Linked DNA regions of Homo sapiens: regions 1, 3 and 4 are each linked to region 2. The links are contacts of gene promoters, found by promoter capture Hi-C in human tissues and cell types (Jung and others, 2019). All regions are on one chromosome and are shown on one strand. Each heading gives the region's core, a stretch centred on a gene start or on the middle of the fragment in contact. The rest is flanking DNA. Distances are from core to core; before and after follow the strand shown. Region 1 overlaps SPAST (spastin). Region 2 holds the start of NLRC4 (NLR family CARD domain containing 4). Region 3 overlaps BIRC6 (baculoviral IAP repeat containing 6). Region 4 has its middle 7.1 kb from the start of DPY30.

Evidence for each region. Contacts are between HindIII fragments. The study calls those that stand out against the background at their distance.
Region 1: a fragment that was not itself captured here is called in contact with the fragment with the promoter of NLRC4 in region 2 in 1 of the 25 tissues and cell types used here (H1 embryonic stem cells).
Region 3: a fragment that was not itself captured here is called in contact with the fragment with the promoter of NLRC4 in region 2 in 2 of the 25 tissues and cell types used here (liver and pancreas).
Region 4: a contact is called between a fragment that was not itself captured here and the fragment with the promoter of NLRC4 in region 2, in 1 of the 25 tissues and cell types used here (liver).

Annotation. Positions count from the first base shown.
Region 1 is chr2:32,079,231-32,081,949 of GRCh38, forward strand. The region is part of intron 1 of SPAST (spastin); the gene reads left to right. Among named protein-coding and RNA genes, the nearest start is that of SPAST, 17 kb to the left of the region's middle. The HindIII fragment of the contact is 7,479 bases long and covers 1-2,719 here.
Region 2 is chr2:32,263,456-32,266,155 of GRCh38, forward strand. NLRC4 (NLR family CARD domain containing 4) reads right to left here and starts at 1,431. Exons shown (of 9, transcript NM_001199138.2): 1 at 1,283-1,431. The HindIII fragment of the contact is 13,663 bases long and covers 1-2,700 here.
Region 3 is chr2:32,509,177-32,511,876 of GRCh38, forward strand. BIRC6 (baculoviral IAP repeat containing 6) reads left to right here. Exons shown (of 74, transcript NM_016252.4): 52 at 562-818; 53 at 1,350-1,458. Among named protein-coding and RNA genes, the nearest start is that of MIR558, 22 kb to the right of the region's middle. The HindIII fragment of the contact is 3,511 bases long and covers 1-2,700 here.
Region 4 is chr2:32,045,563-32,048,262 of GRCh38, forward strand. No RefSeq gene overlaps it. Among named protein-coding and RNA genes, the nearest start is that of DPY30, 7.1 kb to the left of the region's middle. The HindIII fragment of the contact is 6,568 bases long and covers 1-2,700 here.

The sequences.
Region 1 (2,719 bases), core at 4-2,503, 180 kb before region 2:
TTTAGGCTGGGTGCGGTGGCTCACGCCTGTAATCGCAACATTTTGGGAGGCTAAGTGGGAGTATCACTTGAGCCCGGGAGTTCAAGACCAGCCTGGGCAATATAGTGAGAGACCCTGTCTTTAGAAAAAAATTAACCAGGTGTGGTGGTGCACACCTGTGGTCCCAGCTATTCAAGAGGCTGAGGTGGGAGAATCGCTTAAGCCTAGGAGGCGGAGGTTGCAGTGAGATCATACCACTGCTCTCTAGCATGGGTGACAGAGCGAGACCCAGTCTAAAAAAAAAAGTATTTTTTCGTTTTTTTCCAACTCATGTACACCCGCCACCCCACCCCTGCTTTTTTTTTTTCTGACATTGGGTCTTGCTCTGTCACCCAGGCTAGAGTGCAGTAGCACAATCAACTCACTGCAGCCTCCTCTTCCTGGACTCAAGCAGTCCTACCACCTCAGCCTCCCAAGTAGCTGGGACCACAGGTGTGCACCATCATGCCTGGCTAATTTTTGTACTTTTTGTAGAGATAGGGTTTCACCATGTGGTTCACCATCTCTAACTCCTGGGCTCAGTCAGTCCACTTTTGCCTCGGCATGAGCCACTGTGTGCAGCCCACGTTTTTTATTAATGGATATTTGGATTGTTTCCATCTATTGTGAATAATGTGGCTATGAACATTGGTCTAAATATCTGTTTAAGTCCCGGCTTTCAATACTTTTGGATATATACCTAGGAGTAGAATTACTGAATTATATGGTAACTTTCTGTTTAAATTTTTGAACTGCCAACCTGTTTTCCATAGGGGCTGCACCATTTTGCATTCCCACCAGCAGTGTACAAGGGTTCCAGTTTCTCCACATTTGTTATTTTTCATTTTTTAAAATAATAGTCATCCTAAAGGGTATGAAGTGGTATCTCGTTGTGATTTTGATTTGCATGTATTTTTCTAATGACTTATGATGCTCAGCATTTTGTCATGTACTTATGTACCATTTGTGTATCTTCTTTGGAAAAATGTCTATTAATGTTCTTTTCCCATTTTTTAATTGGGTTGTTTTTATGTTTATCAATTTTGTAAACATTTTAAGCTCTGCAGCATAACTACTCAACCCTGTCACATGGTAAGATTGACCCAGTAAAACTTTATGTACAAAAATAGGCAGCTTACTAGATTTAATCTTAGTCCATAGTTTGCTAAGGCATGCATTAGATAATGTAGTTACACTATTGGCTAATAATTTAAACTACAAGTGGTTGTAAGTTTCTGCCACCCAAATTCTTTCTTGATTTGATGTAGTCTGGTTGGTTGAATTTGAGTGTTATATGGGGTCATAGAGTTAAAAGAGAAATGTCTATGAGAAACTAGGGACTGTTGGGAGCTAATGTTAAAGGATTTTGGAGGCCTTTTGTGCACTGGAGACCATTGGAAGATTGGATTTTCTGCTATAAATGTATCTAAAGGATAATCAGTGTAAGTTATGGGCTGTAGTTTGCCAACCCCTACATTAAGGGATTGAAATAATTTGAATATGGGTTTCAGTTCTTGTATGGTCTGGCTCAGTTCTTTTTTTTTTTTTTTTTTTTTTTTTTTTTGAGATGGAGTCTCACTCTGTTGCCCAAGCTGCAGTGCCATGGCACGATCTCAGCTCGCTGCAACCTCCGCCTCCTGGCTTCAAGTGATTCTCCTGCCTCAGCCTCCAGAGTAGCTAGGACTACAGGCACGTGCCACCACATCTGGCTAATTTTTTTTTTTTTCAAGACAGAGTTTCGCTCTTGTCACCCAGCCTGGAGTGCAATGGCACGATCTTGGCTCACCGCAGCCTCCGCCTCCTGGGTTCAAGTGATTCTCCTGCCTCAGCCTCCCAAATAGCTGAGGCAACAGGCGTGCGCCACCACGCCTAGCTAATTTTTCTGTTTTTAGTAGAGATGGGGTTTCACCATCTTGGCCAGGCTGGTCTCGAACTCCTGATCTCATGATCCACCCGCCTCAGCCTCCCAAAGTGCTGGGATTACAGGCGTGAGCCACCTCACCTGGCGTTTTTTTGTGTGTGTTTTCAGTAGAGATGGGGCTTCACTGTATTAGCCAGAATGGTCTTGATCTCCTGACCTCGTGATTCACCTGCCTCAGCCTCCCAAAGTGCTGGAATTATAGGCATGAGCCACCACGCCTGGCTGTGGCTCAGTTCTTAACTGTTCATTCATTCAGGGTCCCAGCCAAAATCTTTTGCCACAGCTTCTCCTGGGCATGCTCTGAAATTCATTTTTTGTCTGTTTAGTTGCATGAGTCCACTGAAAGCTTTGCTTATTTTCTCCACCACTTTCAGAGTTCACAGTCACTTCAAGTAGACGAGGTCAGGAGATCGAGACCATCCTGGCCAACATGGTGAAACCCCGTCTCTACTAAAAATACAAAACTTAGCTGGGCGTGGTAGCGTGTGCCTGTAGTCCCAGCTACTCAGGAGGCTGAGGCAGGAAAATTGCTTGAACCCGAGAGGCAGAGGTTGCAGTAAGCCGAGATCATACCATTTCACTCCAGCCTGGGCGACAGAGTGAGACACTGTCAAAAAAAAAAAAAAAAAAAAAAAGGAAAGAAAAGTGCTCCAAATGCTGGGCTCATCTCTGCTGGCTTCTCTCCTTTTTATATTTCGATAATTTTTAAAATAATAACCATCCTAATGGGCTTGATATGGTCCCTCCTTTCTAAATTTTGGTAATTTTCATTGTTTTGGA
Region 2 (2,700 bases), core at 181-2,680:
TAGGCTTCAGCAATCTCACATGTTAATATTAGTGTTATGTGCTGAACTGGGCTTCCCCCAAATCCATATGTTGAAGCCCTGAACCTCAGAATGTGACTGTATTTGCAGACAGAGCCTTTAAAGAGGTCATTAAGCTCAAATGAGGCTGTTATGAGAAGAGGAAATCGGGACACACAAAGGGAGATACCAGGAATGTGCATACAGAGAGAAAAGGCCAAGGAGGGAGGCGTGGGGAGAAGCCAACCCTGCTGACACCTTGGTCTTGGACTTGCAGCCTCCAGAACTGTGGGAATATAAATTTCTGTTGTTTAAGCCACCCAGTCTATGGTATTTTAAACACATTAATACGACTAATATTATAAAAGTGTGTGAACAGTTAAGAAGTGTGCTGACCAGGTTCTATCCTAGTTTTGTAGACAATTAGCAGTGTGATGTAGGGCAGGACATTTAACTCCTCTCTACCACATTTTCCACCTCTCAAAGCCAGGCTGCAAGGATCTACTGAGATAATGTACATAAAGACCCTATCACGAAATAGGTGTCCCGTAAAGGGTGATTTCCTTCACTTCTGTCTCCAAATATCAGGTTTCTCATCAGTAACTTGGGAGATTGGATGGACTAAGTAGTCCACCTCGTTCCTTTCAGCTTTGATCATCTGTGATTCTAACAACAGTCTTAGCAACAAGAGTGAGTTTCCTGGCCGGGCACGTTGGCTCACACCTGTAATCCCAGCACTTTGGGAGGCTGAGGTGGGCAGATCACGAGGTCAGGAGTTGAGACCAGTCTGGCCAACATGGTGAAACCCTGTCTCTACTAAAAATACAAAAATTAGCTGGGGCGCGGTGCCGGGTGCCTGTAATCCCAGCTACTTGGGAGGCTGAGGCAGGAGAATTGCTTGAACCCAGGAGGCAGAGGTTGCAGTGAGCCGAGATCACGCCACTGCAGTCCAGCCTGGGTGACAGAGCAAGACTCTGTCTCAAAAAAAAAAAAAAAAAAAGAGTGAGTTTCCTTTCTGTAATGCCAAAAAGTGTTTCCAAAGTCCTTTCCATCTCACAGTAGTCCAAGGGGTACATGTACCCCTTGAACCTGATGAAGCCCCAGCAGACCCGATTAACCACCCCTAAAGGTTTCTCGGCAGGCAAATCCAGCCAGGCATGCAAATCACACTCGTCAATGTTAAGGCTTTTGTACATCCCAGACACAAGCTTTAAATGAATGTAAACCCAGATTTTAATATTTGGGCCCCAGACCTTAAAAATCCCATTCTCTCTACCCACAGTACCTGGCTGAGCAATCCAATTGCCCTCTTCTTGGGAGACCAAGACATGTTTTTAAAATAAAGTTTCTTTGTATTTGCTTTCCGTTTCAGTGAGGCCTCGAGTTCTTGTAGACCAGATACCTTCTTGTTCTGTGAGAGGACAGTGTACAGAGAGGGGAACTGCTGAGCAGTTCCTTTTTTTTTTTTCAAAGCACAGTAAGAGTGGTTTGGACACAAGTACTACCAGTTCAGAAAGGGAAGATGGGTGTAGGCAGGAGTAGCCGGGGAAGAAGTAGAACTTCAGAGTAAAAGATGCAAGAGCTAGAAATTCCGTCAAGAAAGGAATTACTCATTTGTTTCCTGTTTGTTCACAACATATGAATTCATTGCTGTTGAGTTACTTATTCTATACCTTAAAATGAAACAAAGTCTTCTGAACATCCAACATATATTTTTTTTCTTTTTCTTTCTTTTTTCTTTTTTTTGAGACAGAGTCTTGTTCTGTCACCCAAGCTGGAGGGCAGTGGCACAATCTCAGCTCACTGCAACCTCTGCCTCCCGGGTTCAAGCGTTCCTCCCGCCTCAGTCCTCCCAGTAGCTAAGACTACAGGCGTGCACCACCATGCCCGGCTAATTTTTGTATTTTTAGTAGAGACAGAATTTCACCATGTTGGCCAGGCTGGTCTCGAACTCCTGACCTCAGGCAATCTGCCAGCCTCAGCCTCCCAAAGTGCTGGGATTACAGGCGTGAGCCACCATGCCCAGCCACAACATGTATTTTTAATGCTTAACCATGGGAGATAGAGCGGTAAATGAAATGAGCCAGCTTAGTTGGCTAAAGCACATTGCTACTGCATTCAAGGTCATGCTTACCCCTGTACCTTGAATCCCAGAGGACTTCCAGCAGATGTGTTCTCTCAGTCAGCAGGGTTCTGGGCAAGGTCACACAGGGCAAACAGATCACCAGTTTTGGTCCACTCCACCGATGACGCACGGGGACACCCTCCGGAGTATAAACAGCCAGGGGCTTGCACAGGCACACTCACATTGGACGTTTGTGTTCACAGACTCCAGGAGGCCAGCTTATACTCAGCTGAGGACTGAAGAAATCTCTCTGCACTTCCCTTGAGGATGACATTCTTGCATACTCTTTCCTCTGTCTTTGCATAAACTACCAGGAACATGTCTTTGTGTTACATAACTTCTTATTTCAAAAAGAGCATTCTGACAGTAGCCTATCTGCCATAGAGGGATACCAAAGTTTCCCGGCAAATAAATGTCTACATCCTGGGTTTTCTAAGGGGGCATCAGTGTCAGTGTTTCCCAACTTGTGAGGTGGGTTTCTCTGAAGTGAGATTGAGGGCTACACTATCAGCTAGATTTTTAAATTGTAATGAAACCTATATATAAACATATGTTCAAGAGAAAAAACTGCAAAGACA
Region 3 (2,700 bases), core at 88-2,587, 250 kb after region 2:
AAGTTTCTGGATGATTGCCTAAAAAAGCAAACCCATGGTGTCTAAGTGCTATGAATACAAGTACTTTTGTATGTGATTTATCTTTCTGTTTGTTTTGAGACAGAGTCTCACCCTGTCGCCCAGGATGGAGTGCAGTGGTGCAGTCTAGACTCACTGCAACTTCTGCCTCCCGAGTTCAAATGATTCTCCTGCCCCACCTTCCCAAGTAGCTGGGATTACAGGCGCCCACCACCATGCCCAACTAATCTTTGTATTTTTAGTAGATAAGGGGTTTCACCAAGTTGGCCAGGATGGTCTCGAACTCCTGACCTTGTCATCCACCTGCCTCGGCCTCCCAAAGTGCTGAGATTACAGGTGTTAGCCACCGTGCCTGGCCATGATTTATCTTATAGGGGAAACTTACTGTCTGTTTACTTAATTTGCAGCATTCTAAAAAAACATGTCTTAGATTGGTTAATGCTGTTTATGAAACACAACATGCTGATCTTTAAAAAGTTATGTTCTACCCCGAAGTGATTTGAGCGACTTATATTGATCATACAAGTCATTTTGTATTTTCAGTATTGGATGGTTACGGTTATTACATCATTGCCTTACTCACATAAGTGATCTAGAAGGAATGATGGCAAGTGCAGCTGCACCTACTGCTAATCTGCTGCAGACTTGTGCGGCCTTATTGATGTCACCTTACTGTGGAATGCATTCACCCAACATCGAGGTTGTGCTTGTAAAGATAGGACTGCAGTCTACTAGAATTGGCCTGAAGCTCATAGACATTCTCCTGAGAAATTGTGCAGCATCAGGCAGTGATCCTACAGGTGATAATTAACTTTGATATTTAAATGTTTACATATCTGTAAAGTAACAGCAGTTGAACTGTGCGATCTTCGTGCTTAACTCTGTTTTGGGAATTATTTTTTCTTTTAGTTTATGTTTATCTCTCCTCTCTTCTCTGATGGAGTCTCACTCTGTTGCCCAGGCTGGAGTGCAGTGGCGCAATCTTGGCTCACTACAACCTCCACCTCCCTAGTAGCTGGGATTACAGGCATCTGCCACCACACCCGGCTAATTTTTGTATTTTTAGTAGAGATGGGGTTTCTCCATATTGATCAGGCTGGTTTTGAACTCCTGACCTCAGGTGATCCACCCACCTTGGCCTCCCAGAGTGCTGGGATTACACGTGTGAACCACTGCACCCAGCCTAGTTTCATTATTTTTAGAGTTTGTTCTGTGTTGTTGGAATTTATGGAAGCCTCATTTTTAATGAATAACTTAATTCAATTAAGTAAATCTTCCCATGGTTAACTTGCTTATTTAGCAAACTTTTTCTTTGGATTCTTTGTTGCAAGATTTGAATAGTCCTTTACTTTTTGGAAGACTAAATGGACTCTCTTCTGACTCTACGATAGATATTCTTTACCAGCTTGGAACAACTCAGGATCCTGGTACAAAAGACAGGTACGATTTTATTTTTCATTTAATTAAGCACACACATGCACATAATCATGCTATAGTAAATGTTTCTGACAGTTTTTCCTTAGATGATCTCATAAAAGACAATACTGTGATATATTGTATGTTTACCATATGCCTCACACGATGTAACTTCTGCAAGTATTCATGAACATTAGACATACATTTGTATGTGTTTGGACATACTTTAAGCAAATTTGAACTTAAATAGAATTCTTTGTTAATACTGCTTTTGAGGAATGGAATAAAACATATATTTTTAAGTTGGCTACGTGTGAAAGGAACCTTGTAAAGTGATGGTATCAGAGTCATACTGTCTTAGGTAGTACTTTATATGTGTATATGAATGTAGGGATATTGTGTCTGTAGTTGGTACTTCAACTGTTTTTATAATGGTTCTGTTTATTTATTATTGATTATCGTATTCATCGAAATCTTTTCATGACTTTCTGCACCCTTTCCTGCTGTTTACAGAATGAAACAATATCATAACATGTAAATGACATTTGAACACATTGGCTAAATATTTAGTGATTTTTTTCTTTTCTTTTCTTTTTTTTTTTTTTTTTTTTTTTTTTTACATTTAGGTAATTTTAATGAGTTGTCCTAATGTCATTCTACCTTGATGTCTTCTACTTCCAAATTGATACCAACTTGAATTTTTGTTTGTTTTGTTTTGAGATGGAGTCTTGCTCTGTTGCCCAGGCTGGAGCGCAGTGGTGCAATCTTGGCTCACTGCAAGCTCCACCTTCTGGGTTCATGCCATTCTTCTGCCTCAGCCTCCTGAGTAGCTGGGTCTACAGGCGACCACCACTATAACTGACTAATTTTTTTTTTTTTTTTTTTTTTTTTTTGTATTTTTAGTAGAGACGGGGCTTTACCGTGTTAGTCAGGATGGTCTCAATCTCCTGACCTCATGATCCGCCCACCTCAGGCCTCCCAAGTGCTGGGATTACAGGCATGAGCCACCGCACCCGGCCAACTTGAAGTAGTTTTGAAACATATTTTTGTTGATAAATTTTTGAGCAAATATTTGGCATTCTCTGTTTTTATGTGTAGCATCCATATTAGAAAAACAGAGAGATTTCTTCCTGATTTATGTTACTTTTTAATATTTTGATTAATTATGTTTAAAATGAAGTCATTTGATGTTTTATTAATATCTTTATAAATTATTAAAATTATGGATTACATTTAAACATAGATTGCAATTGTTTTTGATGAAGT
Region 4 (2,700 bases), core at 104-2,603, 220 kb before region 2:
TATGAAAAATTGGGCGGACATAGTAGTGCACGATTGTAGTCCCAGCTACTCAGGGGCGGAAGCGAGAGGATCGCTTGGAAGAGTCTAGGCTGTCCTGATCACACCACTGTACTCTAGCCTGGGCAACACAGCAAGACCCTGTCTTGAAAAAAAAAAAAAAGATGAAACTGCTTTGTAAACTGAAGTTACACAAATGTAATTGAAATTCATTTTGTCTTATCTACATTACTTATCAAGCCACTTCATTAGCTTTTTAATTTTATTCATTTATTTATTTATTTTTGAGACAGGATCTCACTCTGTTGCCCAAGCTGGAATACAGTTTTGCAAACTTGGCTCACTGCAACCTTCACCTTCCAGGTTCAATCGATTCTCCTTCCTCAGCCTCTCAAGTAGCTGGGACTACAGGCGCATGCCACCACACCCAGCTGATTTTTGTATTTTTAGTAGAGAGGGGGTTTTCCCATGTTGGCCGGACTGATCTCAAACTCCTGGCCTCAAGCGATTTACCCACCTCGGCCTCCCAAAGTGCTGGGATTACAGCACTTTGTAAGCCACCATGCCCGGCCCTTCATTAGCTTTTTACTTTGTTGTTTTAAAATAATTTGCAGGAAAGAAATTATTCAGAAAAATTAAGAACTTGATCCAGCACCCACCCACACCCACCTACCCCACCCCACCCCCCAACACTCACATACAAAAATGTATTTGCAAATAAATACATAGAATTTACTGAGTGTAAATGGGCCCTCTGAGTACAATGTGTGGGGAGGGACACCCAACCACCTCTCAAGAAGACCTAGAAATATATGTTCCAGGTTAGGTAAGTCACTTTCCAGAGAAATAAGAGAAATATCTCTTTGTGGCTAATATTGGAAGGCAACCACTCTACCTGTAGCTCCCTTGTCTCTACTACCAAACAACATGCCCAAGCAATCTTACCACCCATCTCAGAAATTTTGGTATATATGGCCGGGCGCGGTGGCTCATGCCTGTAATCCCAGCACTCTGGGAGGCGGAGGTGGGCGGATCACGAGATCAGGAGATCAAGACCATCTTGGCTAACATGGTGAAACCCGTTTCTATTAAAAATACAAAAAAAAAGTAGCCACGCGTGGTGGCGGGCACCTGTAGTCCCAGCTACTCAGGAGGCTGAGGCAGGAGAATGGCGTGAACCTGGGAGGCAGAGCTTGCAGTGAGTGAGATGGTGCCACTGCACTCCAGCCTGGGTGACAGAGCAAGACTCCATCTCAAAAAAATTAAATAAATAAATTTTGGTATATCAAGGAACATACCAAATGGGTTTTTGAAAGGCATGAATATAGTGTGTTCCTTTGATTTTTATGATACACAAGTGATCTCAACGATAAGAATAATAAAACTGGACGCGGTGGCTCACACCTGTAATCCCATCTCTCTGGGAGGCCGAGGTGGGTGGATCACTTGAGGTCAGGAGTTCCAGACCAGCGTGGCCAACATGGTGAAACCCTGTCTCTACTAAAAATACAAAAAAAAAATTGGCTGGGTGTGGCTGCACACACCTGTAATACCAGTTGCTAAGGAGGCTGAGGCAGGAGAATGACTTGAACCCGGGAGGTGGAGGTTGCAGTGAGCCGAGATTGCGCCACTGCATTCCAGTCTGGGCAACAGAGCAAGACTACATCTCAAGGAAAAAAAAAAAAAGAGAGAGGATAATAAGAATTAATGAAAAGGCAACCTTACTGACATTTCAAATCCTTAAATTGCCAATTGTTTCTGCCACTTCTTGTATGAGGCTATATTTAGATTTTTTCCTAAAACGTCCTAATTTTCAGTCTTAATTTTTTAAATGTTTTTTCTATCTTTTTAGAGATGGGTTCTCCATACGATGTCCAGGCTGCAGTGCAATGACTATTCACAGGAGCAATCTTAGAACACTGCAACCTCCAACTCCTGGCCTCAAGATATTCTCCTGCCTCAGTTTCCCAAATAGCTGGGACTATAGGTGCATGCCACAGTGGCGGTGATTTTCAGTTTTTAAATGTGTTGATTTTATGCTTTCCTTTTCAATCCAAATTATTATCACTTAAATTAATGTTCATAAATAGGTCATGGGTTATTAAGTGATAGGCAAAATACATAACTTTGATATCTCTTAATTTTAGGTTGCCCAAAGCCATTCCATATTAATTTAAATTGAAACCATTTCCCTTTTAAAAGACAAAGTCAGAGGCCAGGAACAGTGGTTCATGCCTCTGTAACCCTAGCACTTTGGGAGGCCAAGGTGGGAGAATTGCTTAAGCCCAATAGTTAGAGACCAGCCTGAGCACTATAGTGAGATCCCATGTCTTTAAAAAAAAAAAAAAAAAAAAAGACAAAGTCAGACAGTAAAATGGAGATTAATAGTGATGCCACCTGACCGGGCATGGTGGCTCATGCCTGTAATCCCAGCACTTTGGGAGGCTGAGGTGGGCGGATCACTGGAGGTCAGCAGTTCGAGAGGAGCCTGGCCAACATGGTGAAACCCCGTCTCTACTTAAGCTACAAAAATTAGTTGGGCGTGGTGGCACACGCCTGTAATCCCAGCTACTCGGGAGGCTGAGGCAGGAGAATCGCTAGAACCCAGGAGGTAGAGGTTGCAGTGAGCCAAGATTGCACCACTGCACTCTAGCCTGGGCAACAGAGCAAAAACTCTATCTCAAAAAAATTTTTTTTAATGTT